Regions from separate parts of the Homo sapiens genome. Here all the other regions are linked to region 1. The links are contacts of gene promoters, found by promoter capture Hi-C in blood cells and fetal thymus (Javierre and others, 2016). All regions are on one chromosome and are shown on one strand. The core of a region is centred on a gene start or on the middle of the fragment in contact, and the rest is flanking DNA. Distances in the headings are between cores, read along the strand shown. Region 1 holds the start of DDX46 (DEAD-box helicase 46). Region 2 holds the start of C5orf15 (chromosome 5 open reading frame 15). Region 3 overlaps VDAC1 (voltage dependent anion channel 1). Region 4 overlaps SKP1 (S-phase kinase associated protein 1). Region 5 holds the start of SKP1 (S-phase kinase associated protein 1). Region 6 overlaps PPP2CA (protein phosphatase 2 catalytic subunit alpha).

What was found. Contacts are between HindIII fragments. The CHiCAGO score rates a contact against its expected background, and 5 or more counts as called.
Region 2: a contact is called between a fragment that was not itself captured here and the fragment with the promoter of DDX46 in region 1, in 2 of 17 cell types (non-activated CD4 T cells and total CD8 T cells). The highest score is 6.4, in non-activated CD4 T cells.
Region 3: a fragment that was not itself captured here is called in contact with the fragment with the promoter of DDX46 in region 1 in 2 of 17 cell types (activated CD4 T cells and total CD8 T cells); the score reaches 5.9 in activated CD4 T cells.
Region 4: a fragment that was not itself captured here is called in contact with the fragment with the promoter of DDX46 in region 1 in 1 of 17 cell types (M2 macrophages); the score reaches 5.0 in M2 macrophages.
Region 5: a fragment that was not itself captured here is called in contact with the fragment with the promoter of DDX46 in region 1 in 5 of 17 cell types (total CD8 T cells, naive B cells, erythroblasts and 2 more); the score reaches 7.7 in total CD8 T cells.
Region 6: a fragment that was not itself captured here is called in contact with the fragment with the promoter of DDX46 in region 1 in 4 of 17 cell types (erythroblasts, total CD8 T cells, naive CD4 T cells and 1 more); the score reaches 6.3 in erythroblasts.

Annotation. Positions count from the first base shown.
Region 1 is chr5:134,756,051-134,760,839 of GRCh38, reverse strand. It overlaps DDX46 (DEAD-box helicase 46), which reads right to left and starts at 2,061. Exons shown (of 23, transcript NM_001300860.2): 1 at 1,885-2,061. The coding sequence starts at 1,901. RefSeq lists an enhancer at 1,797-2,286. The HindIII fragment of the contact is 1,728 bases long and covers 1,069-2,796 here.
Region 2 is chr5:133,964,810-133,969,598 of GRCh38, reverse strand. It overlaps C5orf15 (chromosome 5 open reading frame 15), which reads left to right and starts at 974. Exons shown (of 3, transcript NM_020199.3): 1 at 974-1,153. The coding sequence starts at 1,015. LOC105379183 (a long non-coding RNA gene) reads right to left here and starts at 910. Exons shown (of 2, transcript NR_134247.1): 1 at 807-910. RefSeq lists enhancers at 831-1,050, 1,681-1,780. The HindIII fragment of the contact is 3,928 bases long and covers 34-3,961 here.
Region 3 is chr5:133,982,971-133,987,759 of GRCh38, reverse strand. The region is part of intron 5 of VDAC1 (voltage dependent anion channel 1); the gene reads left to right. Among named protein-coding and RNA genes, the nearest start is that of C5orf15, 17 kb to the right of the region's middle. The HindIII fragment of the contact is 1,116 bases long and covers 1,590-2,705 here.
Region 4 is chr5:134,155,192-134,159,980 of GRCh38, reverse strand. It overlaps SKP1 (S-phase kinase associated protein 1), which reads left to right. Exons shown (of 6, transcript NM_170679.3): 5 at 1,386-1,526; 6 at 2,213-4,789. The coding sequence ends at 2,248. Among named protein-coding and RNA genes, the nearest start is that of SKP1, 19 kb to the left of the region's middle. The HindIII fragment of the contact is 2,454 bases long and covers 1,299-3,752 here.
Region 5 is chr5:134,172,263-134,177,051 of GRCh38, reverse strand. It overlaps SKP1 (S-phase kinase associated protein 1), which reads left to right and starts at 102. Exons shown (of 6, transcript NM_170679.3): 1 at 102-197; 2 at 3,030-3,126. The coding sequence starts at 3,030. RefSeq lists enhancers at 102-351, 442-721. The HindIII fragment of the contact is 359 bases long and covers 2,453-2,811 here.
Region 6 is chr5:134,191,067-134,195,855 of GRCh38, reverse strand. It overlaps PPP2CA (protein phosphatase 2 catalytic subunit alpha), which reads left to right. Exons shown (of 7, transcript NM_002715.4): 7 at 1-1,524. Among named protein-coding and RNA genes, the nearest start is that of SKP1, 17 kb to the right of the region's middle. The HindIII fragment of the contact is 1,885 bases long and covers 1,689-3,573 here.

The DNA.
Region 1 (4,789 bases), core at 812-3,311:
GAGAATGGCGTGAACCCTGGAGGCGGAGCTTGCAGTGAGCCGAGATCCCACCACTGCACTCCAGCCTGGCGAAAGAGCGAGACTCTGTCTCAAAAACAAAAACAAAAACAAAAAAACAACCAAGTAATACCAATTTCACCTCTGTAATTCCCTTCACATTATATCACCTCCACAGAGTTCCAACCGTCACTATTCTATATCAGACATATCTACCTAGGAGATTCTTAAAGACTGTAGTCTTCCTGTTTCTATTACTTTTCCATTAAATCTTACTCATTGCTGCTAAGGAGAATTCTGATTCTATTACACACTTTTTACTCAAAATCTTCAAAGGTTCACAAACAAATTCTGATCTTCAAAATCTACAATCCACCCGCTTTCTGGGCCCAAGTCCTATTCAGGACCTACCTCCTACTACTTCTCAAAAAAGATAAAATCCCTTCATGAAACCTACATATGCAGAAAAATTGGGCTTTTTAGCTATTTCTCTAACACCTTGCGCCTTCCCACCTCTAAGCCTTTCATGATTCCCTGAACAAACCTAGAGCACAGGCCATGCACACCAGAGAGGTAAAGGAGAAGGCTGACGGGCTAGAATGGACCTTCTTGTGAAGGGCCTTGAAGGCTGTCATAGAGTTTAAATTTCATCTTGGAAGCAGTAGAAACCAATGGAGACTAAGTCAGGGGCATGCCATCATCTTATCTCTACTTCAGAAGTGTCACTCTGGCTGTAGTGTAAGGGATCTAACAATTAGGAGAGCAACAGAGGAAGACAATCAATTCAGAGAATCAATTTAAAACAGATGTAGTAGTCTGGACAATAAATAATTAGGGCCTCAATTAAGTCAGGGACAACCAGAATGGGCAAAGGATGTAGAATCTAACAGGCTGTGGGTAGTGAGAGAGAAGAATGAGTCAAATAAATATCACTTTCAGATTTCTGGTCTGGACAGCCTTCCGGAGATTTAAAACACCGTCACAGGAATTTTCTGTAGTTAAAGAAATATTTTTTATCTTCATCCAGGTGATGATTACACGGTTTATATATTTGCTAAATTTCATCAAGCTTTACCCTTACGTTTTGTCCATTTCCCTGATTGTTAATTGTACCTCAACAAAGAACTGTTAGCACTAACAACAAAAGCCTTCATTGTTCCTAGACATAAAATATCTTTCAGTCATTGCTAAATACATAGCAAATAGTCATTTTTAACATAAAAATCTCAAGGTTCCTAACAATCTATCAACAATCTAAAGTTGTGATGAGATCTAATGAGTTCTAATAAGAGCTCATAGTCCACAACTTCAAAAGGACAGAAAAGCAGGTAACAAAGTTACCTGCTTAAATACGAAATCTATTTGCGAAGTAAATGCCCACGCAACAAGTATTTATTGTAGCCCAGTAAAAGCCTAGTCGTGTATAGTGCTGTCGATGCGGTAAAAATGTCTGCCCACACGCTCCTTTCAAGTAACTTGGGAAAAGATCATACGCGCACAAAGAACTAAAATACAGAATGACAGGAGTCGAGGAAATGTTGGAAACGCGAAGCAATAAGCAATCCAACTGGGATCACTTCTGACTGAAGTAATCAGGGCAGGCTCCCTTGAAGTGGCGGGATGTGGTGCCCAATCACTAACGTCCTGGAGGGTTGTTCCCGCTCCAGGGGCTCGAACCCTCTGATGGTAGTGCAGGGGAAGCCGTCGCTGGCCCAAACACAACCATTCCCTCAGCCGAGGTCCCCCAGCCCTTCCAATGCTCGCGGGGCAGCGCTGACCGCACGTGGGGCCGCGCCAGGCCTGGCCCGGCGGCCACCTCAACTCCCGCCTCTTCTCACGACCCCAAGAAGCCGCTCGCCCGCTAGCCCGCTCGGCGCTCTGCCTCACCGTGACTCCCGACCCATGCTGCCGACCGCGGGAATACTGGTGCCCTTGAGTACCACGCACAGGCGAACCGGACAAACAAGGAGGCTGAGCTGCCCTCAACGCCCGGCAAAGACCAGCGCTAAACACTAGCAGCACCTACAGCTGTGGCGGCCATCCCAGCGCGGCCAACGAAAACAGGACGTGCTGGCGCCGGCAGCCGAAGGAAGAGAAAAGCCGACCGGAAGCTGCCGCTCTTCCACAGCGCCCCACCTCGACTGGAGGACGCACAGCGCCGGCCCCATCGAAAGGTGATGCCTTCGCCCCGCCCAGTCTTCCCGGCGCCCGCACCACGCCCGGCTGATTAGTGCGATGGAGCGCAGCGCGTCAGCCTCGCCGGCCCGTGAGGGTGTTTCGCGCCAGAGCCAAAGAGGCGTCCTGGGCAGGCTGATGTCTGCCTTAATTTGCGCTAAATAATGCGGCAACTTTCTCCGTACACGCTCTTTATTCATGTATACATTCACTCATTTATTTATGTTGTCATATGCCAGGCTTGTGCTAGATCCTGGGGAGCTCACAGTCTATCCGGGAAACAGATGACTAAAGCCAGCACAGTGGCTCACGCCTGAAATCCCAGCACTTTGGGAGGCTGAGGCGGGAGGATCTATTGAGCCCAGGAATTCAAGACCTGGGCAACGTAGCCCTCGTCTCTGCAAAGAAAATAGTAATAATAATAGACTTGACTAAAAACACAAGCAGAAGTAATACAGCAAGGAGAGTCCACCATTGGAGACGGATTCAGAAAACACGTTTCCCTTGGAAGTGAACTCTGAGGTGAGATTTGAAGACCCGGTAGGTGTTAACCTAGTAGAGAACAAAGAGCTAAAAATACTTTGGCAAAAGATTAGTTCTCAACATTGCTTGCACTGGGAAGCTTAAAAATAAAACAAAAAAACAAAAAAAGGGCCAGCCATGGTGGCTCATGCCTATAATCCCAGCACTTTGGGAGGCCGAGGCAGGAGGATGGCTTGAGCCCAGGAATTCAAGACCTACCTGGGCAACATAGCGAGACCCTCTACAAAAAATAAGCAAAATAATTAGCCAGGTGTGCTGGCACGCCTGTGGTTCTAGCTACTTGGGAGGCTGAGGTGAGAGGATCATTTGAGCCAGGGAGGCTGAGGCAAGAAGATTACTTGAGCCCAGGAGTTTGAGGCTGCAGTGAGCTATGATGACTCCAGCCTGGGTAGCACAGAGAAATCTCATCTCTAAAATATTAGTAAATAAAATAGAAGCCTGGGTTCCACCCCTATGTTCTGATTTAATTGGCCTGGAGTGCTTCTTGTGCACTGGGAATTTTTAAGCTTCCCAGGTAATTCTGAAGTACAGTCAAGATTGAGAACATTATTCGAGAGTTTGGGCACCAAAAAAATGTATATGTATTGTCTCATGCAACACACACAGAAATGTTGAATTTTTTTTGTTTTTTTTTTTTGAGACGGAGTTTCGCTTTTGTTGCCCAGGCTGGAGTGCAATGGTGAGAGCTCAGCTCACCACAACCTCCACCTCCTGGGTTCAAGCGATTCTCCTGCCTCAGCCTCCCAAGTAGCTGGGATTACAGGCATGCACCACCACCCCAGCTTATTTTGTATTTTTAGTAGAGATGGGGTTTCTCCATGTTGGTCAGGCTGGTCTTGAACTCTCGACCTCAGGAGACCTGCCCGCCTCGGCCTCCCAAAGTGCTGGGATTACAGGCATGAGCCACCGTGCCCGGCCATGTTGAGTTGTTTTTGCAAAAAGCTATAATGGAGTTGGAGAAAGGCTCATATTTTTACTTTACTTGCCTCTGTACTATTTTACTTTCTTACACCTAAAGATGATGGAAAAGTTCTGTGTCTTGATTTTAGTGGTCATTGAATAGATTTGCACATTTTTCAAAATTCACTGAACTGTACCCTTTAACTGTACATGACTTATTGTATGTAAATTTTACCTCAACATAGTTGATTAAAGAAAAAAAGCAAACCAACGAGTGACACTCCAAGATGAGTTTATGCTCCCCACGCCCCCCGTGGCTTGCTGCCCACCTGTGGTAGCTGCGAGAAGCATTGAAGAGGGATAGAGACTGGAGGTTCTGGCAGTCCATGCCAAGGGTAAGAAGGCCTGAGCTAATTAATGAGTGACAGGATGGACACCAAGGAGGGTTAGGAATCCCCCTGTAAATTGTTTGGATGTGGGCTGCAGGTAGGGAATGTGGATTTCAACCTAAAAGACATAGAAAACCACCAGTGGCTTAAACAATGAAGACTGAGAAGTGATCAGATTCTGGGTGTATTCTGGAAGCAGCTCTCAAAGCGCCAATAGATAAACTGGATGTGAGCTATGACGGAAAGGAAGGAATAAAAGATGACTGCCAGGTTTTCAACAGAGCTATTGTGGACTGTGGTGAATTTGTGGAGATGAGAAAAGCATGGAAGCAACAGATTTAGTGGAGGAAATAGAGAAAGTCATTGAGTTTGTTTCAGTCATGTGATATTTGAGGTGCCTACTAGACATCCAGGAAATAACAGCTACAAATAGAGGCGGGAGAGATATGGGTCCTCAGCATTTTATAGAATGTATAATACACAGTATTTGAAGCCATGGACTGGATGAGGCCATGCAGAAGTGAATGGAAATAAGTCCTTAATTTTTGAAATTAACACAATTTGAATATTGCTTAGAATCACAGGATTAGGGCCAGATGCAGTGGCTCATGACTGTCATCCCAGCACTTTAGGAGGCTGAGGCGGGTGGATCACATGAGGGCAGGACTTCAAGGCCAGCCTTGCCAACATGGTGAAATTATGTCTCTACTAAAGATACAAAAATTAGCTGGGTGTGGTGGTGCGTGCTAATCCCAGCTACTCGGGAGGCTGAGGCATGAGAATCA
Region 2 (4,789 bases), core at 748-3,247, 790 kb after region 1:
GATTTCAAGTAACAAAATTTAAAAAGAGAAGCTTATTTTAGGAAATCTGAAAGTTATTTTCAATGGCAGCCCCTCACCTCTACTTCCTAGCTACCTTCCTTTCTTTTCCTCCATAATTTTTTTTTTTTTTTTGAGACGGAGTCTGTGGCCCAGGCTAGAGTGCAGTGGCATCTCGGCTCCCTGCAGCCTCCACCTCCCGGGTTACAGCGATTCTCCTACCTCAGCCTCCCGAGTAGCTGCGATTACAGGCACGCGCCACCACGCCTGGCTAATTTTTGTATTTTTAGTAGAGTCGGGGTTTCTCCATGTTGGCCAGGCTGGTCTCCAACTCCGGACCTCAGGTGATCTGCCCTCCTCGGCCTCCCAAAGTGCTGGGAGCCACTGCACTAGGGCCGGTCCATAATATCTTTATCATCTTGTATAGTGTGTATTTTACACCATATTCGCCCTCACAAGAAAATAAACTGCCAAGGCGGGCGGGGGGGTGGGGGGTTCTTTTTGTTCACTGCTGTATCTTAAATAGGGAGAGGTGCTAAATCTTTGTTGAAAAAAAATAAATGACTGTCGGGAAAGATTTTTAAAAATTACTTATAATCCCATCACCGAAATAGGACTACTTAACATTTGTGTTTCTTTCGCCTTTGAGAGAGGAAGAGCAGTTACTTCGCTTTCGTGATCAGTCTGTTCTACAGCTGGATCTTCCTTTTTAAAATGGCTAAAAACGCTATTTTTGGCTGTATAGTACCCAATCATGCAGGCGGCAGGGAGGGGCTCGCTTTGGCCCTCTTCAGCACGTCACACCCTACCTTTAATCCGCAGCCAACTGTGTGGCGGTCCCCACTTTCGCCTAGCGGCAACTCCCTCCTCCCTGCAATCCTTCCTTCTTATTCCGGTTTCCAGAGCACGTCTCCAGGCTTCGACGTCACCACGCTGGGACGTATGTGCCGAGGGCCGCGGCGTCTGACCTCATGGCGTAGAGCCTAGCAACAGCGCAGGCTCCCAGCCGAGTCCGTTATGGCCGCTGCCGTCCCGAAGAGGATGAGGGGGCCAGCACAAGCGAAACTGCTGCCCGGGTCGGCCATCCAAGCCCTTGTGGGGTTGGCGCGGCCGCTGGTCTTGGCGCTCCTGCTTGTGTCCGCCGCTCTATCCAGTGGTAAAGGGGGGCGGCAGTGTGGGCTTAGGAAGGCTAGGAGGGCTCGGGCGCAGGGCAGGAGACAGGCCGGGCCAGGGAAAGGGCGCTTCCAAGTGTCAGGAGCAGACGGCGGTGTCTGGTTGGGTCAGGGTCTCCGCGGGCCTGAGGACGGAGGGTATGGTGTCTGAAGGGGTCCAAGGTGGTAGGGTCTCCAAGGGGCCTGAGAAGCGGGGTCCCTGAGAGATGCAGGAACCCAGGGAGCAGGCAGCAGGGTGTGTAGATGGGCGGGGAGGGAGGAGTGGTGTTAGCGCCTAGAGATCGTTGAAGAATGGGCTGCCGCAAGGAATGGCGGTGGTGGGGTCTCCAAAATTTCTTGGATCGGAAAGTTAGGAGACTCTGGAAGAGAGGGTGGCGACAGGGGCTGAGGAGGTGGCCGGGGCTGGGGGTGTGGTGTCTGGAAAGGGTCCTGAGTTTGGGGGACTCAGGAATCTTGCAGGACCAAGGAAAGGTGGGGGTTTTCCAGAATGGGAGAGGTCAGTGGTAAAGACCGAGGCGGGCAGGGGCAGTAATCCAGTGACTGGACTGAACCAATGGAATATTTCCGAGAGGGAAAGTGAAAGGGAAAGAGCTGTCTTAGGGTACTGGTGCATATTTGAAGACTGGGAGGTTCTGGTGTTTGATAAAGATTCAGAGTACTGGGGCGTTGGGCCCCTGAAGGCTTGGGAGGCAGAGAGGAGTTTGGAGACAAGGGAGATCATGATTCCTCTTCCCTGTGTTCCGAGTTAACCAGGATAACCCTGCCTCGTTTTAATGCATCTGTAGGATTTGATTGATAAAATATTTCATTTCTTGCAAATGTTGCATGGTGAAATCAAGAGATTGAAGGCTTTTATTGAGAAATTAGGAAATCTGTAAACCAGTGCCTGATACTTGGTGGGAAAAATCCACTATTAAGAACTTGTAAGGATTAAACGGTATTTTGTTTAGTAGTCCCATTTTTCTTTCAGGCCAAGACACAGTCCTGCGTTTCTCCCTAAATTTGAATTTTCAGCTGCAAAACAGTGTGACCTGGTATAGTGTTTTCTTTCTTGCCAGCAGGGCCTGTCCAGCCCTACATTCCTCTGCGACAGTACTGTGGGTACATACTTATGTTTCCTCAGCAACATTTCAGTGTTGCTAACTGGACGCCCTCCCAGAAGTCTTTGCAGTCCCTGAGGAAGGACTGCTGTCCATTTCCTAAGGCCCTTTTATCATTAGTGAAATGTAATGAGGATTTCCCTGGTTGATGCAGATATTCCCGTTCCTAAAGTACTTAAGTAGCTTAATTGTTTTGGCCATTTAATCATCTAAGAAAAATAAAACACAAACATTTATATTTCCTGCTGGAATGCTTAAGGGATATATATCTGGCAACTGTAGTTTCAGAAACAGCTTTTTTCCCCTAAGAGATGGTTGAAAATTGGGCAAGAAGTGAGGCAGAATGTGGACTGTTAAGTGTCCTTTAGTCTCTGCTTTTATTTGTTAGAGCCCTATAAATATTTTTCTAACTATACTGAGACATTTTAGAGAATCTTTATCTTTTAAATTAAGTCTTTACATACACCAGTTTAAAATGTCATAAATTCAGATTATTCTGTCCTGAAAAGAAGCTAAATGAAAACGAACATACATGTCTTTAATAGGCGAGCAGCTCCACTGCACTACAGTGTAGCTTGGGATATAAGTATTTTTTGTAAGCATACCTTATAATTTCAAAGTAGTCACTCCTGTAATAAGAAAATTAGTCTAGAATGTGTTGAGTTCCAAATTTCAAGTGAGTTTACAAAGGTAGAAGGTTACCACATTAGATTTATTTAAATTTGTTCCATATTAGGTTTTAAAAACTGTCAATGCTTGGTTATATGCTCGTCAGTCTGTAAGAATTTTTGTTTTATGTTTTTGTTTTGATCAAGTCTAAAAAATTAACATAAGCAGTTTGGATCACTGGGTGACTAATTCTTGGTCATGCCATTTCAAAAATGCCTGGTTCTCTACATTTGCCATTATATTGTCCCCAAATGATCACCTAAACTTAATGTATAATGCATTTCATTTTTAAGGCATTGTTTCTCAAACCAGTGTGTGAATGAGTTCTCGGGGTCCTCTGCATTCTTAAGTTTAAGAAATGCTGATATAGTTTTATTTTAGGGCAGTTTTTAAAAAGGGACCAGTAGAAGGGGAGAATTAAATTTATAAAGTTTTGTTTTTTGTTTTTTTTTTGAGTCTGTCGCGAGGCTGGAGTGCAGTGGCGTGATCTCGGCTCATTGCAACCTCCGCCTCCCGGTTTCAAGTGATTCTTCTGCCTCAGCCTCCCGAGTATGCTGGGACTACAGGCGCGCACCACACCTGGCTAGTTTTTGTATTTTTAGTAGAGACGGGGTTTCACCGTGTTATCCAGGATGGTCTCAATCTCCTGACCTCGTGATCCGCCCGCCTTGGCCTCCCAAAGTGCTGGGATTACAGGCCTGAGCCACTGTGCCCAGCCTTTTTTGTTTGTTTGTTTGAGACAGGGTTTTGCTCTGTCGCCCAGGCTGGAGTGCAGTAGCACAAACTTGGCCCATTGCAACTTCCGCCTCCTGGGCTCAAGCAGTCCTCCCACTTCAGCCCCCTGAATAGCTGGGACCACAGGTGCCTGCCACCGTGCTCAGCTGATTTTTGTATTTTTGTAGAGATGGGGTTTTGCCATGTTGGCCAGGCTGGTCTTGAATTCCTGTGCTTAAGCGATCCACTTGCCCTGGCCTCCCAAAGTGCTAGGGTTACAGGCGTGAGCCACCGTGTCCGGCCTAAGCTTTATTTTTAAAATGTTAAGCTTCAAGTAGAGAGGTAATATCAATTAGGAAAGGGAAGATTTAGAAGTCTTATTTATATGCTCATAGAAGGTCAACAGTTAAATCCGTAAAGTCAGAGTTGTACCTTTGTTCTGAATACTCTTCATATCTGACTTAATCAACTTCTCTGATTTGAAGGAGTTTGAGTAAGTTGATAGCCTTTGTATTACATGTTTCAGGTCAATTATTTGTTTTTTCTTGTGCTGTATTTGTGTATTACTTCCAAGATTTTACTGCTTGACTAAGACATTCTGCTCCTACTTGGTGCTAGGTATTGGAGTTAAACAATGAATAGGGTGATACTGGGGGTATCCTTAGAAGAATGAGTGGCGTTTTGCTGAGAACCATGGCATGGGCTCTTGAGGGAGTGCAGTAGGTGCATAGATGCTATGTGGGATGTGGTGTGGGATTTGTGGTGAGAGTTGAATCGAGAGCATATTCAATAAATATTTATTGAGTGCCTGCTATCTATTAAGTAGGTAATGGGGATAGAGCTGTTAGGGAGATTAGTAAGATAATGAGAGTGAGGTAATGGGGGCCAGATCATGTAGGATCTTGAAGGCTATTATAAAAATTTTCACTTTTGTGAGAAATGGATGGCCCTAGAGGGTCTTAAGTAGAGGAGTAACATTTGATTTAAGTTTTGACAGAATGACTCTGGCTGCTGTGTTGAGTATAGACAGTAGAAGTTAGGGTGGAAGCAGGCAGATTAATTAGGAGGCTATTGTAATAATCCATGTGAGATAATGGTTACTTGGATGAGGCAGGAGCAGTGGAGGGTGAAAAGCCC
Region 3 (4,789 bases), core at 898-3,397, 770 kb after region 1:
AGACACTTTGAGATTATGCAGATATTCTATTTCTCATCATACTTTTGCTCAAAAATAGTAACATCCATTGGTGATTCTTGCCTGCAACAGTTACGCTTGGCAAATGGTGACTGGAGTGCAGTGGTGTGATCCTGGCTCACTGCAACCTCTGCCTCCTGGGATCCAGCAATCCTCCTTCCTCAGCCTCCCAAGTAGCTGGGACCACAGGCGTGTGCCACCAAGCCCAGCTAATTTTTGTATTTTTAGTAGAGATGAGGTTTCACCAGGTTGGCCAGGCTGGTCTAGAACTTCTCAGCTCAAGCGATCCACCCGTCTCAGCCTCCCAAATTGTTGGGATTACAGGTGTGAGCCACCACGCCTGGCTACAAATGGTGATTTTCTTTTCTTTTTTGTTTTTATGAGATGGGGTCTCACTCTGTCACCTAGGCTGGAGTGCAGTGGTATGATCTCGGCTCATTGCAACCTCTGCCTCCCTGGCTCAAGGGATCCTCCCTCCTCGGCCTCCCCAGTAGCTGGGACTACAGGTGCCTGCTGCCACCCCTGGTTGATTTTTATATTTTTGGTAGAGACAGTGTTTCACCATGTTGCTCAGTCTGGTCTCAAACTCCTGACTCAAGTGATCTGCCTCCCACCTTGGCCTCCCAAAATTCTGGGATTACAGGTGTGAGCCACCACACCTGGCCTCAAATGGTAATTTTCTATTGCCATCCTTCCTTCACTTGTTAATTGGTATTCTACCGTAAGGAAGAGCTATTCCTTCTTCCCCATGTATTTATTTAATCAATTATTTATTTATATTAGTATAGATGCATGGACATTTACTCTATGGGCTATAATGCACAGTGTCATTTATTTTGTCGCTCAAGTTGTCCCAGATATGGGCTTTGGGAGAATACACTCTGTGTGCTTTTTGACAAACCTCTGTCGTTTTTCAGAGCATGTCTTTATTTCTGGTTTTAGAAAGTGTACCACGCTCATCTAGTACTTGTTTTTCCCCAGTCCTGCTATCTGCCATTTCTCCAAGGAGCCTTGGTTCTTTATGTTGGAGAATGATATTTAGAAACTAAGATTGTAGGCCTGGCGCGGGGGCTCATGCCTGCAATCCCAGCACTTTGGAATGCTGAGGCAGGTGGATCACGAGGTCAGGTGTTTGAGACCAGCCTGGCAAAACCCTGTCTTTACTAAAAATACAAAAATTAGCTGGGTGTGGTGGCGCACACCTGTAATCCCAGCTACTCAGGAGGCTGAGGCAGGAGAATTGCTTGAACCCAGGAGGTGGAGGTTGCAGCGAGCCGAGATGGTACCACTGCACTCCAATGTGGGCGACAGAGCAAGACTCCATCTCAAAAAAAAAACAAAACTAAAATTCTGGGTGCTAGATGTACATAATGCTACTGGGTATTTGAGGAAAGTTCTGGTGGTGCATCATGGAGATTAGAAACGAAAGCTGGCTTTCCAAAGTGACTGAGGGTACAGCCTGGGAAAACACCTGGCTCCCAGGAGGAGCGGAGTGTAGACCACATCTGGATGAGGCCACAGACCTCAATAAGGACCAGCACCCACGCTGAGTATCCATCACAAATAAAGCTTGCTTGTTAACCACAAATCAGTCAGGCCTCTCTCGGGTGCTTGTCAAATTAGCACTACTGTTGAAATAGCTTAAAAATAAATCCCAATAATATCTGAAAGAGGAAGACTCCACAGACATGGTGTGCAGTGTTAGAAAGAGACCTGGAGAGAAGCCTGAGCCACTCCCCAGCACTGCCCTTTCTCTTGGGGATTGTGGGCCCTGGCCAGAATCCAGTGAGACAGTGGGTGGGGGTGCCATGTCAACTGGTGCAGGTGGTGCACACCACTGGTCAGAGGCCCTGCCATAGGCATCATAGTTTGTGATCATCAGCAGCTTTTTATTAAAAATTGAAAAAGGAGATGGTTAGAAGATGCCTGATTTTATATTTCCTTTTCCCTTTGTAAATGTCAGCCTCTCAACAGCTGTCTAATCATCAGTCATCTCAACCAGCCTGGTGCCAATCACATACTTGGCTGAAACCCAGACTTCTTTCCCCAAAGAGCAGGCAGATGAAGATAGGTTTCTTTTTCTTTTTTCTTGAGACATCTTGCTCTGTCGCTCAGGCTGGAGTGCAGTGATGTGATTTCAGCTCACTGCAACCTCCACCTCCCAGGTTCAAGCAATTCTCGTGCCTCAGCCTCCTGAATAGCTGGGATTACAGGCACATGCCACCACGTCCTGCTAATTTTTGTATTTTTAGTAGAGACAGGGTTTTTCCGTGTTGGCCAGGCTGGTCTCCAACTCCTGACCTCAAGTGATCTGCCCTCCTTGGAGTGCTGGGATTACAGGTGTGAGCCACTACGCCTGACCAGTTTTGGATTTTTCTTATTGAGAGATAATTTGGTTGTTACTCCTTTCCTTCAAACCTTGCCAAAATGTACAGAAGTAACTTGAACAAAATTGAGGTTCCAAGGCATAAGTTTCATTGTCACTTGTTCTGTTGGTGAGCAGGTCTGTGCACACCTACTCCCAACTGCTGAGGGAGCTGAGCAGCCAAAGAAAGAGACTGACAAATCCAGTTTCTCAGAAAGAAACATTTAATAGAGACTTACAAATAGAAGCGATGTCTCAAGCAGCCAAGAGACAGTGGATCCCTGCATTCATCCTCCAGAAAGTATTCTTTATATAGCAAGCTTTTAGAGTAAAGACATGTGCATGTCTTAGACCATCTTGCAGAAAACTCTTGCAAAACTTGTGACCAAAGGGAGGTTAGATAAGCATCTTTACTTTTTAAATTTTTATTTATTTATTTTTTTGAGACAGTCTCACTCTGTCACCCGGGCTGGACTGCAGAGGCGTGATCTTGGCTCATTGCAACCTCTGCCTCCCGGGTTCCAGCGATTCTTCTGCCTCAGCCTCCTGAGTGTCTGGGACTACAGGTGTGCACCACCACACCCAGCTAATTTTTGTATTTTTAGTAGAGATGGAATTTTGCCATGTTGGCCAGGCTGGTCTTGAACTCCTAAGCTCAAGTGATCTACCTGCCTTGGCCTCTAAAAGTGTTGGAATTACAGGTGTGAGGCACTGTGCCCGGCTGGCATTGTTTCTTTTATGGGATTGTCTATGATGCATTCCTTGGTCGTCATGGCTGTATTAGGCTATTCTTGCCAGGCAAGGTGGCTCACGCCTGTAATCCTAGCATTTTTGGAGGCTGAGGCAGGCAGATTGCTTGAGCCCAGGAGTTGGAGACCAGCCTAGGTAACATGGTGAAACCCCATCTACACACACACACACACACACACACACACACACACACACACACACACACACGCTGGTCATTGTGGTGAGCGCCTATAGTCTTGTCCTTGCATTGCTCTAAAGAAATACCTGGCCAGGCGAGGTGGCTCACACCTGTAATCCCAGCATTTTGGGAGGCTAAGGCAGGCAGATTGCTTGAGCCCAGGAGTTGGAGACCAGCCTAGGCAACATGGTTAAACCCCGTCTACCCACATGCACACACACACTAGCTGGGCCTGGTGGTGCGCACCTATAGTCAGTTCTAGCTACCTGGGAGGCTGAGGTGGGAGGATCACCTGAGCTCAGGAGGTAGGGGCTGTAGTGAGCCATGATCGCACCACTGCACTCCTGCCTGGACAACAGAGTGAGACCTTGTCTGAAAAAAAGAAAAAAATACCTGAGGATAGCTAATTTATGAAGAAAAGAGGTTCAATTGGCTCATGGTTCTGCAGTCTGTACAAGCAGAGCACAGGCATCTGCTCGGCTTCTGGGAAGGCGTCAGGAAGCTTTTAGTCATGGTGATTGATGAAGCAGGAGCAGGCACATCACATGGCAAGAGCAGGAGCAAGAGAGAGAGAGTGGTGGGGAGGTGCCACACGCAAACAACCAGATCTCATAACTCATTATTGGGAGGACAGCACCAATCCATGAGGGATCCACCCCCATGGTCTAACCACCACCCAGCAGGTCCAACACTGGGGACTGCATTTCAACATGAGATTCAGAAGATACAGCATCGAAACTGTATCAGTGGTGATTTTGTTTCAAGACGGTGTCACTCTTGCCATGGAACAGGCTATTTTCCTACATCACTTGGGAGGGGTGCTGGCTTTATTTTCAGCTGTGACCTCTAAAATTCTTGTCTCATTGAGAATTTGGAATTTTTAACCTTTATTTTTTTTTAATGAGAAATCTGAAACATACAAAAATATACAGAAAAATATGTTTAACCCTCATTCTATTCCTATCACACAGCTTTGATAGTTACCAACCTGTGGCCAATCATGTTTTATTTATACAGCCATAAATATAACACTCCTCCACGCACATACTATTTTAAGTAAATAACAACACTTAATTTCAGCTGTAAATATTTTATTATGTATCTTTAAATGGCAATAATCCATTTTAAAGGAGCATAACCATGATATTATTATTATATTGAAAAAAGTTGATCATTTCTTTTTCTTTTTTTTTTTTTTTAAAGATGGAGTTTCACTCTTGTTGCCCAGGCTGGAGTGCAATGGTGCGATCTCAGCTCACGCAGCCTCCGCCTCCCGGGTTCAAGTGATTGTCCTGCCTCAGCCTCCTGAGTAGCTGGGATTACAGGCATGGGCCACCACACCCGGCTAATTTTGTGTTTTTAGTAGAGACGGGATTTCTCCGTGTTGGTCAGGCTGGGCTCGAACTCCCGACCTCAGGTGATCCGCCTGCCCCAGCCTCCCAAAGTGCTGAGATTACAGGCATGAGCCACTGCGCCCA
Region 4 (4,789 bases), core at 1,276-3,775, 600 kb after region 1:
CTGGGTGCGGTGGCTCACGCCTGTGATCCCAACACTTTGGGAGGGTGAGGCGGGTGGATCACTTGAGGCTAGGAGTTCAAGACCAGCCTGGCCAGCATGATGAAACCCCATCTCTACTAAAAATACGAAAATTAGGCCGGGCGCGGTGGCTCACGCCTATAATCCCAGCACTTTGGGAGGCCAAGGTGGGCGGATCACGAGGTCAGGAAATCGAGACCATCCTGGCTAACATGGTGAAACCCCGTCTCTACTGAAAATATAGAAAATTAGCCGGGTGGGGTGGCAGGAACCTGTAGTCTCAGCTACTCGGGAGGCCGAGGCAGGAGAATGGCATGAACCCGGGAGGTGGAGCTTGCAGTGAGCCGATATCGCACCACTGCCCTCCAGCCTGGGTGACAGAGCGAGACTTCGTCTCAAAAAAAAAAAAAAAAAATTAGCTGGGTGAGATGGCACCCACCTGTAATCCCAGCTACTTGGGAGACTGAAGCAAGAGAATTGGCTGAACCTAGGAGGTAGAGATTGCAGTGAGCCGAGATCACGCCACTGAATTCCAGCCTGGGTGACAGAGTGAGACGGTGTCTTAAAAAAAAAGTCTCCATTGTAAAAGGATTCAGGTCATACAAAGTATGTCTTCTGACTGCAATGGAATTAGAAATCACAAACAGAAAGGTATCTGGAAAAATCTGCAACTACTTTTAAACTAACACATTTGCAAGTAACCTATGGGTCAGAGAAGAAATAGAAAGTATTTTGAGCTGAGTGGAAGTAAAACACATGAAAAATCGGTGAGATGCAGCTAAAGAAGTACTTAGAGGGAAATTGATGGAATGAAATACCTATATTATTAGAAAAGAAGAAAAGTTTCAAATCGGTGATCTAAGCTTCCACCTTAAACTAGTAAAAGATGAAATTAACTACAAAGTAAACAGAAGAATGAGAATATTAAAGGGCAGAAATCAATGAAATAGAAAACAGGTAAACAATAAAGTCAATGAAACCAAAACCTGTTTTTTAAAATGAGATCAATATAGTGCTATAACTGCTTACGTTTGAACTCTTTAAGTGTGGACAAATATTTTTGCCAAGACCTGATGTGGTATTTGTGTGCATGTGTACACACATACACAACAGTAGTGGCCGTTATTTCACATTTGAGCTAGTATAGTTTGGTTAAGGAAGCAGAAGGATTCAACATTATAGAGGTATAACAAAGAAGGTCACATAAAAGTCTTTCACAGAAGAACTTAGGAGTGATTTATTCTTCTCCCTTTAATTTCTTAAAATTAGCATTTTAAGCTTTATTAGATACGGAGTGTCAATCATTAACTTTGGATTTAGTTTAAAACATCAAGTATACTTTAAGGAAAACAACTGTCTCTTTACAGGCTGCAAACTACTTAGACATCAAAGGTTTGCTTGATGTTACATGCAAGACTGTTGCCAATATGATCAAGGGGAAAACTCCTGAGGAGATTCGCAAGACCTTCAATATCAAAAATGACTTTACTGAAGAGGAGGAAGCCCAGGTAGGTAGCACACAGTTTTGTCTTTGATCACATGCTCTTAAAAAGGGAGTAACACCTATAACATGCCAGCAAAAGAGGTGACTGTATCAAGTAGTCTTGATACTTTAGGGATAATATGTACTTAATGTGTCTTAAACATACTCTTACTGTTCTGTCTTTATGAATCTGAACACTTAGATGATACTGCATTTTAAGCATAAGAACAATTAGTTTTCAATGAGAAGAGCTCTTGTTAATGTATTAACAGTTACTAGTTTTGGCACCTGCAACTTTCTGTATAGACCATACATATCTGACATCAGAAAAGCAGGCCCTAGAGAGAAGTATATACTAGGGTACTTTAGAGCAACTTAATGAGGGGAGGAAATGAAAGAATAGATCAGAATGATTTTGTTGACATGACTACAGACTGAAATAATGTGAATGAATTAACTGAATTTGCTCTGTCAACTTTAGTAAATTGCCCATTGCCTTTGCTTTGTTCATAATTTCAGCAGGGCAGAATAAAAACCATGGGAGGCAAAGAAAGGAAATCCGGAAATATAGTCTTAACCTGGTGTTGTTCTAATTTTCCATCTGTTCTTCTGACTCAACTCACTGGCTATCGATGAATCAGTAGGTAGTATTTATAAGTCTTAGGAAAGACTACTCAAGTTAAGGTACTTCCCTATATCCATCTCTTTTAGGTACGCAAAGAGAACCAGTGGTGTGAAGAGAAGTGAAATGTTGTGCCTGACACTGTAACACTGTAAGGATTGTTCCAAATACTAGTTGCACTGCTCTGTTTATAATTGTTAATATTAGACAAACAGTAGACAAATGCAGCAGCAAGTCAATTGTATTAGCAGAATATTGTCCTCATTGCATGTGTAGTTTGAGCACAGATCCCAAACCTTACGGCCAAGTTTCTTCTAGTATGATGGAAAGTTTCTTTTTTCTTTGCTCTGAATAAAACTGAACTGTGGGTTCTCTATAAGTGGCATTTTGGGCTTTCCCTCTTTTTTGTAAAGCAATGTCTGCCTAGTTTATTGTCCAGTTAACTTTAGTGACCTTTTAAAAGTTGGCATTGTAAATAAAACAACTTGCAAAAAAGTTTTCTGGAATAGAATTAACAAAATATTATCTTTATTCATGAGTTGGAAACTGGAAAAAGGCTTCTTGAAGTAAATGTTCTGAGTGGAGCTACTAGGATGTCTTCCAGCCTCCTGCAGTCAAGGAGTACCACTGTATTGATTAGCCTGTATGTAGCAGGGCTCCCTTCATTGCATCTGAGGACTTGTTTTCTTTTTCTTTATTTTTAATCCTCTTAGTTTTAAATATATTGCCTAGAGACTCAGTTACTACCCAGTTTGTGGTTTTTTGGGAGAAATGTAACTGGACAGTTAGCTTTTCAATTAAAAAGACACTTAACCCATGTGGGATGTCATCTTTTTATAATTAGTGTTCCCATGTGGAGAAAATTATTCACACTACTTGCATGTAAAGAATAATTTAACTTTTAACATTAAAATATGTGGTAAAACCCAGAAAGCATCCATCATGAATGCAAGATACTTTCAATAAAAAGTAAGTTATATAGTAGGTAGTTAAGTTTGCTTTTGTGGACTTAAATGTGTCTCTTCACTTAAATGGGTTGAATGTGTATATATTTGTTCAGCTTGAAAAGACTTAGTTTATATCCTAGCTCACTGGAGGCTGCTGACATAACCATAACTTCTGTCCCTTCTAATTGTCATTTATATGCCTAACTGGAGCTAGTACTTTAATTCTTAACACAAAATTACTCTGCCATTGTTTCCAGCTTCCCTCCTACAATAGAATGAAGTTTTTTTGATGGCTTGAGATGGCTCACAAATTTTGATTTTTTTTTCTTCCTTGTGCTCCCTTTTTTTCTCCTTGCTTTTCCAGTTAACATCTATATTCACATGTAATCTTGTTTTCTCTTCACATTCACTGAGTTGTTCAGGCTCAGATCATCCCTTGACAGTAGTTTGCCTTCATCTCACCTTTCATTTGTCCCAAATTCACCTTATTTAATAAAGTCCCATATGTTGTCTCACTTAATTCCAATTTGTTGTCTGTACCAGAGATAGGAAACTATAATGTGTGGGTCAAATCAGGCCCATAGCCTGTTTTTGTAGTCTTTGAGCTAAAAATGGTTTTTACGTTGTAAAGAGTTATTTAAAATTCTCTCTCTCTCTCTCTCTCTCTCTCAGGAGATAAGCTTGTTTTCTGTTTGTCCTGGTTTTAGTGGGGAAGGTAGCGGTGTATAGTCCTAGCTGAATTGTCTCATCTACCAATTCCTGCTATTATAAGATCAACTTCTGCAAAAACCTTATCCACCTCAAGTATCCTTAGCAGCTGGGCATGGTGGCTTATGCCTGTAATCTCAACATTTTGGGAGGACAAGACAGGAGGATCGTTTGAGCCCAGGAGTTCAAGACCAGCCTGGGCAACACAGAAAGTCCCTGTCTCTCCAAAAAAAAAAAAAAAAATTAGCAGTCATATGGTGCATGCCTATAATCCCAACTACTTGAGAGGCTGAGGTGGGAAGATGGCTTGAGCCTGAGAGGTCGAGGCTGCAGTGAGCTGGCATTGCACCACTGCACTCCAGTCTAGGCAATAGAGCGAGACCTTGTCTCAAAAACAAACCAGAAGTATCCTTAGCAGTATTATGACAAACAAATCTTCACTGAAGGTCCAGGATTACTGCCATATGCCATGTTTAACTTGTAAAGGAAGTATCACCTTCTAAGAAACTGGAGCTTGTTATTACCACTTGATCTGTATAATACTCAGCAGTAGTTAGAATTATATGAGTAAATAACGTCACTATCCGTATTTAAAGGATAATGAGATCTTTCAGAAAGATTGGATGGACAGACAATATAGTAGTAATTTAAATTTTTGTTTCCTGACTTTCTGTAGTCCCTAAACAAACAACAAAAAATCCTAGTAATCTTAAACTTTTACATTAATAGAGATCCAAGAGAAAATAAGCCATTTTTCACCATTGTGGACCCAAATAAATCATAGACATGGTATTAAGAAGCCCTTTTCAGTCTGGTTGCAGTATTATTTTCCTACCTTTCTTTTTCCTGTTCCCTGCTGTATGCCCACTATTCCTTTAATATATCTACTAGAACTTTTCTAGGCTTTCACCTGGAGTGAGTGGTCCTTTCTCATTATCACAGTAGCCAAACCTCAGTCTTCAAAACTCCACTCATTTCTGGCTACTCTCTTACTTCCCAACTATTCTTCTA
Region 5 (4,789 bases), core at 1,383-3,882, 580 kb after region 1:
GATCTCGGCGGCCAGCCCAGCCGCGATGTGACGCCGCGCGCCCCGGGGTCCTCGGCGCCTGCGCCCTCTCCTATAAAGCAGACGCCGCGCCGCGCTGCGACGCTGTAGTGGCTTCGTCTTCGGTTTTTCTCTTCCTTCGCTAACGCCTCCCGGCTCTCGTCAGCCTCCCGCCGGCCGTCTCCTTAACACCGAACACCGTGAGTAGCCGCCCACTGAACTGGAAAGGGTCGTGGCTACCGGATTGCGTGCCGGCTGGCCTCACCGCTGCGGTTTGGGCCTGCCCGCGGCGGGCGGTGACTGGGCCTGGCCTTCTTTCGGGCCCGGTGGATCGCGTTGTCGACCCTGTTCTTCGGGAGACCCTACCAGGTTCCGTTCACCTGCCCCGCCCCCGACTCAGCGAGGCCTCCTCTGGCCGGGCGTCCTCACGGCGCTCCATAAGTGAGCCGAACCCCGGGCTGGGCCTTCTCTGCACCGGCCGAGCGTCAGCCGGCGCGGAGCTCGGCTGCAAGGCCCAGGCTGCGGCCGGGGGCCTCTCTTGGTCTTAAGCCTGCTGTCCCGGGGACCAGGGCGGGGGTGGCGGCGGGGTTGTGAATGGGGGTCCCTTGGCTGTCGTGAGCGTGGGCGTGTGTCGGTGTCTGGCTTTTGTTGTGGTCGGGAGGGAGAGCTGCGGTGGTGGTCTGAGGCCGCCCGGTTCTTGGCTCCCATCCTTTCTCCACCGTGTCTGGCGTCACTAGCTACCGGTCGGTCCTGGCTAACCGTGTGCGGGCGCCGGCTTTCTGCACATAGCCGCCTGCTCCATCTGAATATTTCTTAGCGTTGTTTTGCCATGACTTGGAGTCGTTGAGCAGATACCATCGTCAGAGTGGTGTGACTTGTAGGAGCCTTAACTGTGTATAACTTAACTCTAGGTATCTGGCTTTTAAAGAAATAGGACGTCTACCTGCTTTGATTCACTTTTAATGGAAACTTCACGTTTGGGTTTTAGGGACATGCATTTTTCCTTTAGAGCGTGACAGTAGAATGTATCCGTTTCATAGAACAATACCGTCTCCTCCACTGTGCAGTCTAAAAAGCAGTGTCAGAATTTCGGGTCACTTAAAGCGCAGGGGTTTTTTTTTCTATATGATGTGATAGAACCCGCTTTATGCTGGCCATGGAGAATTATTTACAAGTGCAGGAGCCTTTAGGCCTCTTTCTTTAGAATGGAATTGTTTTGAAAGCATTTCAAATAAATATTTCATCCATTATTACTTAAAAATTTTGCACTTTATTCTACTGTAACACTAAAACTTATCTTTGAGTTTAGTATTACCAAGTGCATCGAATTACAGATTAACCGATTGACCAGCTGCTATTTAGTAAGGTCTCAACTCCCTTAAGAGTAACCCAATCCACAAACTTGACTATGACTAAGCACTTATCTTGAGTTATTTGAAAGAAATATGAAACGGTCGTCTTGCTTTTAGAGTAATTTTAATCAACTGCATTGTTAGATTTGTGATTCTGCACTGTTCATTTCAGTACTATCTAATATAAAAATTACATGTTTAAATGTTTTATAATTAAAAATTGGGCTCAGGTTAAAATATTTTCTTTTGGAGATACCTTTTGTTGTGGTCTTGTCACAGGAAGGGTCCTCTACTCTGCATCCTTCTCCATTAAGCAGGGACAACTGCATTATTGGCAAGCGCTAAGCAACATGGAGAAGCAGACATGTTTGTGAATCGCAAAGTGAAATCTGATTCTCTCCAACTATGGATGAGTGAGAGTAGGATATTTCAGTGGCTGGTTTTAAAACATGCTTTACTTTTTTGCTTCCTTTGCCTAACAACCTGTTTGCTTTGGGGTTGGCGACAATTGTCTCAGAGAAGCTGAATGAATATTTTAACCGATGTAATGGGTCATAAGTCTTTGAACATAAAATGGGTGTGATGCATGTTTTAAATGCCAAATGATACACTTTTGGGAAAATATATGCGATTTGTAATACAACACACCTAGAAAACTTCAGAGGTGCCATAAGTTAATAGTGACATCACCGGATTATGAATACTTGAGAAGCATGGGCCTTTTAAAAGTTGTATGTGAGTTTTAAGAGGCCTTGAATTAATCTGTACCAGGTATTGCTATTCTTTTTGTTGTTGTTGTTTTCCTTGTTTGTATGTTTTCTTTTTTAAAAAAAGAATTTGAAGATGGTAAGAAATTGTTGGACTTTTAATTTTAAATGCCTTTTTTTTTTTTTTTGCCAGAACTCAAGTCCTTTGAAATTAAATGCTTAACTTTTTATGTAAGATTATATCTTTTTCCTAACGACTCATAATTAATCTGAATTAATAAATGCGTTTTCAGAGCAAGTAATAGGTTATTATTATGGAGATCTTGCCAAGAGATCTCAAAGTTGGTCACCTGGACAGTCAGTACTGAAAGATAAAAAGGGCTCTGAAATGAAGCTTTTAAGTAGATTTAGGGAATTGTACTCACATCTGCTTATCTTTAAATCATTTTATTCTCTTGTATATGGTCTTGCATTGCCTCAGACATAAATGAGCATATTCTGATGTACTCTTTGGATCTGAACTCATCTTCACAGGTAGGACTCACTGTGGGGAAAATTTCTATCTTATTTAGTAGCGTTGTTTGTTTTGGACTGACCTTCCTCAGGTTCGCATGTAGTTAATTGTGGCAGTTAACTGTTCAGATGGAGTCCAGTATTCAGTGGGAGACGAAAGGCAGGCAGAAAGCAAATACAAATATGTATGTTTTATTAAATTTATACCAATAGTGAGTTCAGTAGGGCAGGCCTTAAAAGCTTCTGTTCCTAGTAGTTATACTTTGAAAAAATTTTAATAGAAATACTCGGAGACTAACTTGTGAATAACTGCTTACAACAGTGCTTTACAGGGTTATGTATTGTAGGTTCTTAGAACTTTGTGGTCAATAAGTTAGAGCCTTCTGATGGACTGTAGTTGATGAAATGTCATGTAGAACTCTCTCTCTTAAATTTTATATTTAATGTCCTTTTTTTTTAGATGCCTTCAATTAAGTTGCAGAGTTCTGATGGAGAGATATTTGAAGTTGATGTGGAAATTGCCAAACAATCTGTGACTATTAAGACCATGTTGGAAGGTAAGTTCATTGGAAAACCTGGGTGGGAGGAAATGTGTAATTTGAGATAGTTTGTGAATATCAAATTTATATGAGCAGCAGCCTGTCATAAGGTGCTTGAGAGTATGAAGAGGTAAAGTTTACATTTTTTTCTTTATAACTTACATTTTTCTGATACAGGTCATCCTTTCTGCATTGTCTGAATTAGTGAGGGTCGTTCTCTCATTAAATGGATAAAATCATAAGGTAAAATAAACATTGAAGTGATTGCCAAGCCTTAGGCAATGGTTAATTTCTGTTCAAGTAAATTTGAATTCATAAGTTCCAGTGATAGAAATTAAGGTCTTTGGAAAAGAGATACCGTCCTATAATGGTGGCTGAATAGAACACCTTATTTCAGTGGAGGGAGTGAGCTCTGTGGATTGCTGTGTAGATTTTATTTATTGATTGATTTATTTGAGACAGAGTCTCACTCTTGTCCAGGCTGGAGTGCAGTGATGCAGTCACGGCTCACTGCAGCCTCAACCTTCTGGGCTCAGTCAGTCTTCCCACCTCAGCCTTCCGAATAACTGGGACTACAGGCACGTGCCACCACATCCAGCTGATTTTTTTGAGACGGATTTTTTTGCTCTTGTTGCCCAACCTGAAGTGCGATGGTGCAGTCTTGGCTCACTGTAACCTCCGTCTCCCTGGTTCAAGCGATTCTCCTGCCTCAGCCTCCCGAGTAGCTGGAATTAGAGGCATGTGCCACCAAGCCCGGCTAATTTTGTATTTTTGTTAGAGACGGGGTTTCTCCATGTTGGTCAGGCTGGTCTCGGACTCCCGACCTCAGGTGATCCGCCCACCTCGACCTCCCAAAGTGCTGGGATCACAGGTGTGAGCCACCGCGCCCTGCCCCAGCTGATTTTTTAATTTTCTTTTTTTTTTTTTTTTTGAGACGGAGTCTTGCTCTGTTGCCCAGGCTGGTGTGCAAGTGGCATGATCTCAGCTCACTGCAACCTCTGCCCCCCGGGTTCAAGTGATTCTCCTGCCTTAGCCTCCCGAGTAGCTGGGATTACAGGTGCATGCCACCATGCCTGGCTAATTTTTGTATTTTTTAGTAGAGATGGAGTTTTACCATGTTTGTCAGGCTGGTCTCGATCTTCTGACCTTGCGATCCACCCGCCTGAGGCTCCCAAAGTGCTGGGATTACAGGCATGAGACACCACGCCCAGCCTAAATGTTTTTATAGAGACAGGATCTCCCTATGTTACCCTGGTTGTTCTCGCACTCTTGGACTCAAGCCATCCTCCCACCTCGGCACCCCAAAGTACTGGGAAGAGCCACATTACAGGCATGAGCCACTCTGCCAGGCAGAATTTTTTTTTTTTTTTTTAAACAAGCTTTCTCTTTTGTCTGTTTTGTCATTCCTCTGAAACTACTACAAAGTATATATGCAGCATAAGGAAGTGACTTAGAAAACAGGTCTTGAAACTTTCGCTAGTTAATGTGGATCTCTTTTTAGTGTTACCAGTGGGGTGATACAAATCAGTGTCTGGAATTGATGAAAAAAACTTAGTAGTATTGAGTGTTCTTTAGTACTTAAATGTCAGAGGTTTTTTATGTAGGGAAAGATCAGTAGATTATAAATACTTGAACGAAGAGAAGGGTTATGTGCCAAGCTTTGGTGCTGGTGAAAAGAAGG
Region 6 (4,789 bases), core at 1,382-3,881, 570 kb after region 1:
TAAATTTTGTGGTTAGCAGAATGGGACTTGTGATAAGAATAGCTTGGTTTTAGCATAACTAGGGTTTAAAATAATTGTTTAATTATAGAGACTGACCGGGCTTTGGCCATCTAAACTGGAAAGTGTTAGTACCCTACCTTCTTTTGAAAATGGCTATGGTAAGGAAAATGTGTTAGTAAATTATGTATTTTCTTGAAAAATACATAATTATGGTTGGATGGGAATCACTAAGTTGGGTGTTAACTGATGTCTCAATTAGTAACATTAGGATTTTCATTAATAAACCTAAAAAGCTTTCCCTAAGAACAGGCCTGGCACAGTGGCTCATGCCTGTAATCCCAGCACTTTGGGAGACCAGGGTGGGTGGATCCCTTGAGGTCAGGAGTTGAAGAGCAGCCTGGCCAACATGGCAAAACCCCATCTCTACAAAAAATATGAAAATCAGCCGGGCTTGGTGGCATACCATAGTCCCAGCTACTTGGGAGGCTGAGGTGAGAGGATCGCCTGAGCCCAGGAGATGGAGGTTGCAGTGGGCTGAGATTGTGCCACTGTACTCCAGTCTGGGTGACAGAGCCAGACCCTGTCTCAAAAATAAAGAGGATTCTGAGTTTGTATAGTGAGGGCTTGCAGAAATTTTGAAACTTATTTTGTAAGTTTACAATGAATTTGTACATGATGTGCTCATGTCTTGGGTTGAGTATCCTAGACATGATTTTTTCATTTGCTGCATATTAAACATTTGTTGGTTGTAGTCGGTATTTCTTAAATAGAAGTTTGTCAATATTAGATTAGTTTCAAGAAGGACTTAGCTCAGGAAAAGGATAGTTATTTCTGTGGTTCTCAGCTTTGATGCCTACAGAGATTCTGATTTAAATTGCTGGAGGAGGGCCCAGGCATACATTTTTTAAGTTTCCCAAGTGATTCTAATTTACATCTAGGGTTAAAAACAGCCAGGCGCGGTGGCTCATGCCTGTAATCCCAGCACTTGGGGAGGCCGGGGTGGGTGGATCACCTGATGTCAGGAGATCGAGACCAGCCTGGCCAGCGTGGTGAAACCCCATCTCTATTAAAAATACAAAACTGACCGGTGTGGTGGCAGGAGCCTGTAATCCCAGCTACTTGGGAGGCTGAGGCAGGAGAATCACTTGAACTCAGGAGGAGGAGGTTACAGTGAGCCCAGATCGTGCCATTGCACTCCAGCCTGGGCAAAAAGAGCAAAACTCCATCTCAAAAAACAAAAACACCTCACTGCTGTTTCCTAAGTACATACTTAAGAAAATTGGGATACATGGTGGTGGTTCATGGATGTTGATAAGGAATTAAAATGTACCGTGCGACTCTCTGTTTCAGTGGTGACTTTTACCTGTTTAGTATAAATATTCCTTTGCTTCCAACCATAAATGTGTTCTTAGAAATGGGCCTATAGTTTAGTAACCTATAGTTTGGTAATAGGCTTGTTTGTTTTCAGATGGATTTTGGTTCTGTGAGCTAAAGCTATTTTGCATTAAAGCCTTCGTCCTCACACATTGTTTTGACATATTTCTAGTCTTCATAAACTTTTTTAATTTAGATTTTTTTCCCTTCACAAGTATACATCTGTTTTAGCAAATAGCCTTATGAAGGTTGTAGATGTATTATTTTGGGCATGCCTGGTGATTTCTATATTTTTTCCAATTACATTTAAAGCTTTATGTTTTAGGAATATAAGTACATTTTATTTCTACTTTTTATTATATATATTTAATTGCACAAGTACTACTGTCTAGAAAAAAATGGGATGTTGCTAACACAGCATTGTTGGCTTGTAGGCAGTGCTGTCCTGTAAATAGATTGAAATGTATTTTTATCAGCTGGTATATAAATTTGAGGAAAGAAAAATGTGGACTGTGTTTGAATTGTTTAAAAGTTGAACATACAAAGATCAGTGGTAACCAAGTAAGTGATATAGGCAACAGACCCCAGTTTGTTTTGTATTTGCTGTCATGCCTGGACCAGAATTCCTCATTCCCAAGAGTGAAAGAGGAAATAATTATAGCTAATGAGTGAATGCTGGAAAAAGTCACACTTTTTTGTTTTTTAAGGAAAAGCACAAACCCTCATGTCTGAGGTTGAATTTAATTAAGTGCAGTCGGCCCTCCATAGTCAAGGGTTCCACATCTGAGAATTCAGCCAACCATGGACTGAAAATATTTTTGGGAAAAGGAACCAATAAAAACCAATACAGTGGCCAGGAGCAGTGGCTCATGCCCATAATCCCGGCACTTTAGGAGGCGGAGGCAGGGGTGGGGGGATCACCGGAGGTCAGGAGTTCAAGACCAGCCTGGCCAACATGGTGAAACCCCGTCTCTACTAAAACTATAAGAATTAGCTGGGCATGGTGGCGTGTGCCTGTAATCCCAGCTACTCAGGAGGCTGAGGCAGGAGAATCACTTGAATCTGGGAGGTGGAGGTTGCAGTGAGCCAAGATAGAGCCACTGCACTTCAGCCTGGGCAACAGAGCAAGACTCTGTCTAAAAAAAAAAAACACAGTATAACTATATACATAGCAATTTCATTGTTTAGGTATTATGAGTAATCCATAATTTAAAGTATAGCCAGCCATCAGTATCCACAGAGTTTGCATCAAATGAGTCAATGGAGTCAACCAACCTGGGATTGAAAATGCAGTGTTCTTTTTTTTTTCCCCCTGAGACGGAGTCTCTCTCTGTCACCCGGGTTGGGGTGCAGTGGCACGATCTTGGCTCACTGCAACCTGTGCCTCCCGAGTTCAAGCAAGTCTCCTGCCTCAGCTTCCCAAGTAGCTGGGATTACAGGCGTGGCTCACTACGCCCAGTTAATTTTGTATTTTTAGTAGAGACGGTTTCACCATGTTGGCCAGGGTGGTATGAAACTCCCAACCTCAGGCGATCCACCTGCCTCAGCCTCCCAAAGTGCTGGGATTACAGGCATGAGCCACCGCGCCTGGCCAAAAAATGCAGTATTCTTGAATGCAGAACCCACTGGTAAAGGGGACTGACTTCCAGACTTGACTATCCAAGGGAGGTGTCCTGGATCCAGTCTCCCAAGATTACTGAGGGATGACTAGTTTGTATCCTCAACAGGCTTGTGAGAAGTAGCCAGGATTTTGTCTACTCTGCGTACGATGCTGCTAATGCTGCAAACCACTGCTCTTATTTTACTACTTGGGTCCCTTCGGAATCTATTTTGAGATAGCCTCAGCCATGGTGTACAATCTTCTCAACCATTCAGTGTTGTTAGTGGGAAGGACTTTAATGTGTTCTTCCTGCTGGGCACAGTGGCTCCCGCCTGTAATCCTATCACTTTGGGAGTCCGAGGTGGGTGGATCACTTGAGCCTGGAGTTGAAGATGAGCCTGGCCAACATGGTGAAATCCTGTCTCCACTAAAAAAACAACTAGCTGGGTGTGATGGCACTTACCTGTAGTACCAGCTAGTTGGGAGGGTGAGACTAAATCGCTTGAAACCGGGAAGCAGAGGTTGCAGTGAGCTGAGATCGCGCCATTGCACTCCAGACTGCGAGACTCTTGTCTCGAAAAAATATATTTTTAAAAGCTTTCTTCCAAGAAATAATTTAGCTGTTCTTCCTTAGTGCAGTGGTAGGCTGTAGCCACCAGCAAGCAAGATTACTGATGGTGGAAGTCAAAGGCCAGAATCGTGATAGGAAGTTAAGAGTGCTTGCTCCATAGAACACTATGGAAGACCACAATGGAATGTCTAATTAAAGCTATTAGAAATGCCCAAAGCTGTTGAGTGCCTCTACCTCAAGGCTTAGCATACCTTCTGATCTGCAAGGAGACTAATCATTAGGCTTTTTGCAGTTCTAGAACTGCTCTGAGTATGGCATTGGAACCTGGGGATAGGAGCAAGAGCTAGTAATTGGGTTTGGCAGGCCTGGTCAAAGGGGAGCTTTAAGGTCAGGTATATCCAAACATATCAGAAAGTAGGTTACATGGTGTGGTGAAATATACCAGATGTAAAATCTGCAGAATGTACTCCTGCTGTTGAGTCCAACTTGCAATGTAAGTCCCTTTGCAGTGAAGGTCTTGAGTATGTATTGCATGCAGCAGGCAGAGGAGCGGGAGGAGAAACTGTATAATGTATTTGGTCTTGAACATCCTTTGTTTTCCAAAACCACATTCATCTCTACCTTGGTTGAAATGTATAAAACTACCATTTTAAGTTTCATCTTTTCATTGATCTATGACTAAAATTAGGATGCAAAGACAAACCCAAGGCTTAGCCCACTGCTCCTCCTCAGAGCTGCACTGAAACTGGTTGTAGGGTAAAGGGATGTAGGCAATTTAAATATGAGTCAAGATTTTTGGGATGGCAGTATGGCTCTCATGGCCTCTGGAAGGATCCAGGTGATGTCCGACCTGGTATGGCCTCTTGGCCTGTTGCCACCGCACCAGGTTTTGCCCTTAATTTTAGTCTTGGCTCTGGATTTCTTTAGGGTATTGTGATAGCTTTGTTGGTCTTTGGGTTTTTCTAGTTTCACCACAGATCCTAGGAAAAATAACCATACTCTAGAAATGAGAAGCCAGGATTTTTAAAGTAGGGCTGGGAATATGAGTAGACATCTTTTGGATTTTCAAAATGTATTTGCTTAAACCACCTTTTGGCAGCAGTTGGACATTTCTGCTATCTACCTGAGTGGCAGATGGCCTACAGCATTTGGTATGTTAAAAGAGTATAGAGTAAGTGATTCATGGCTTCTGAAATACATCAATTTGACGTTGCAGTCTTGAAAAGGCAATAGCTGACATATCC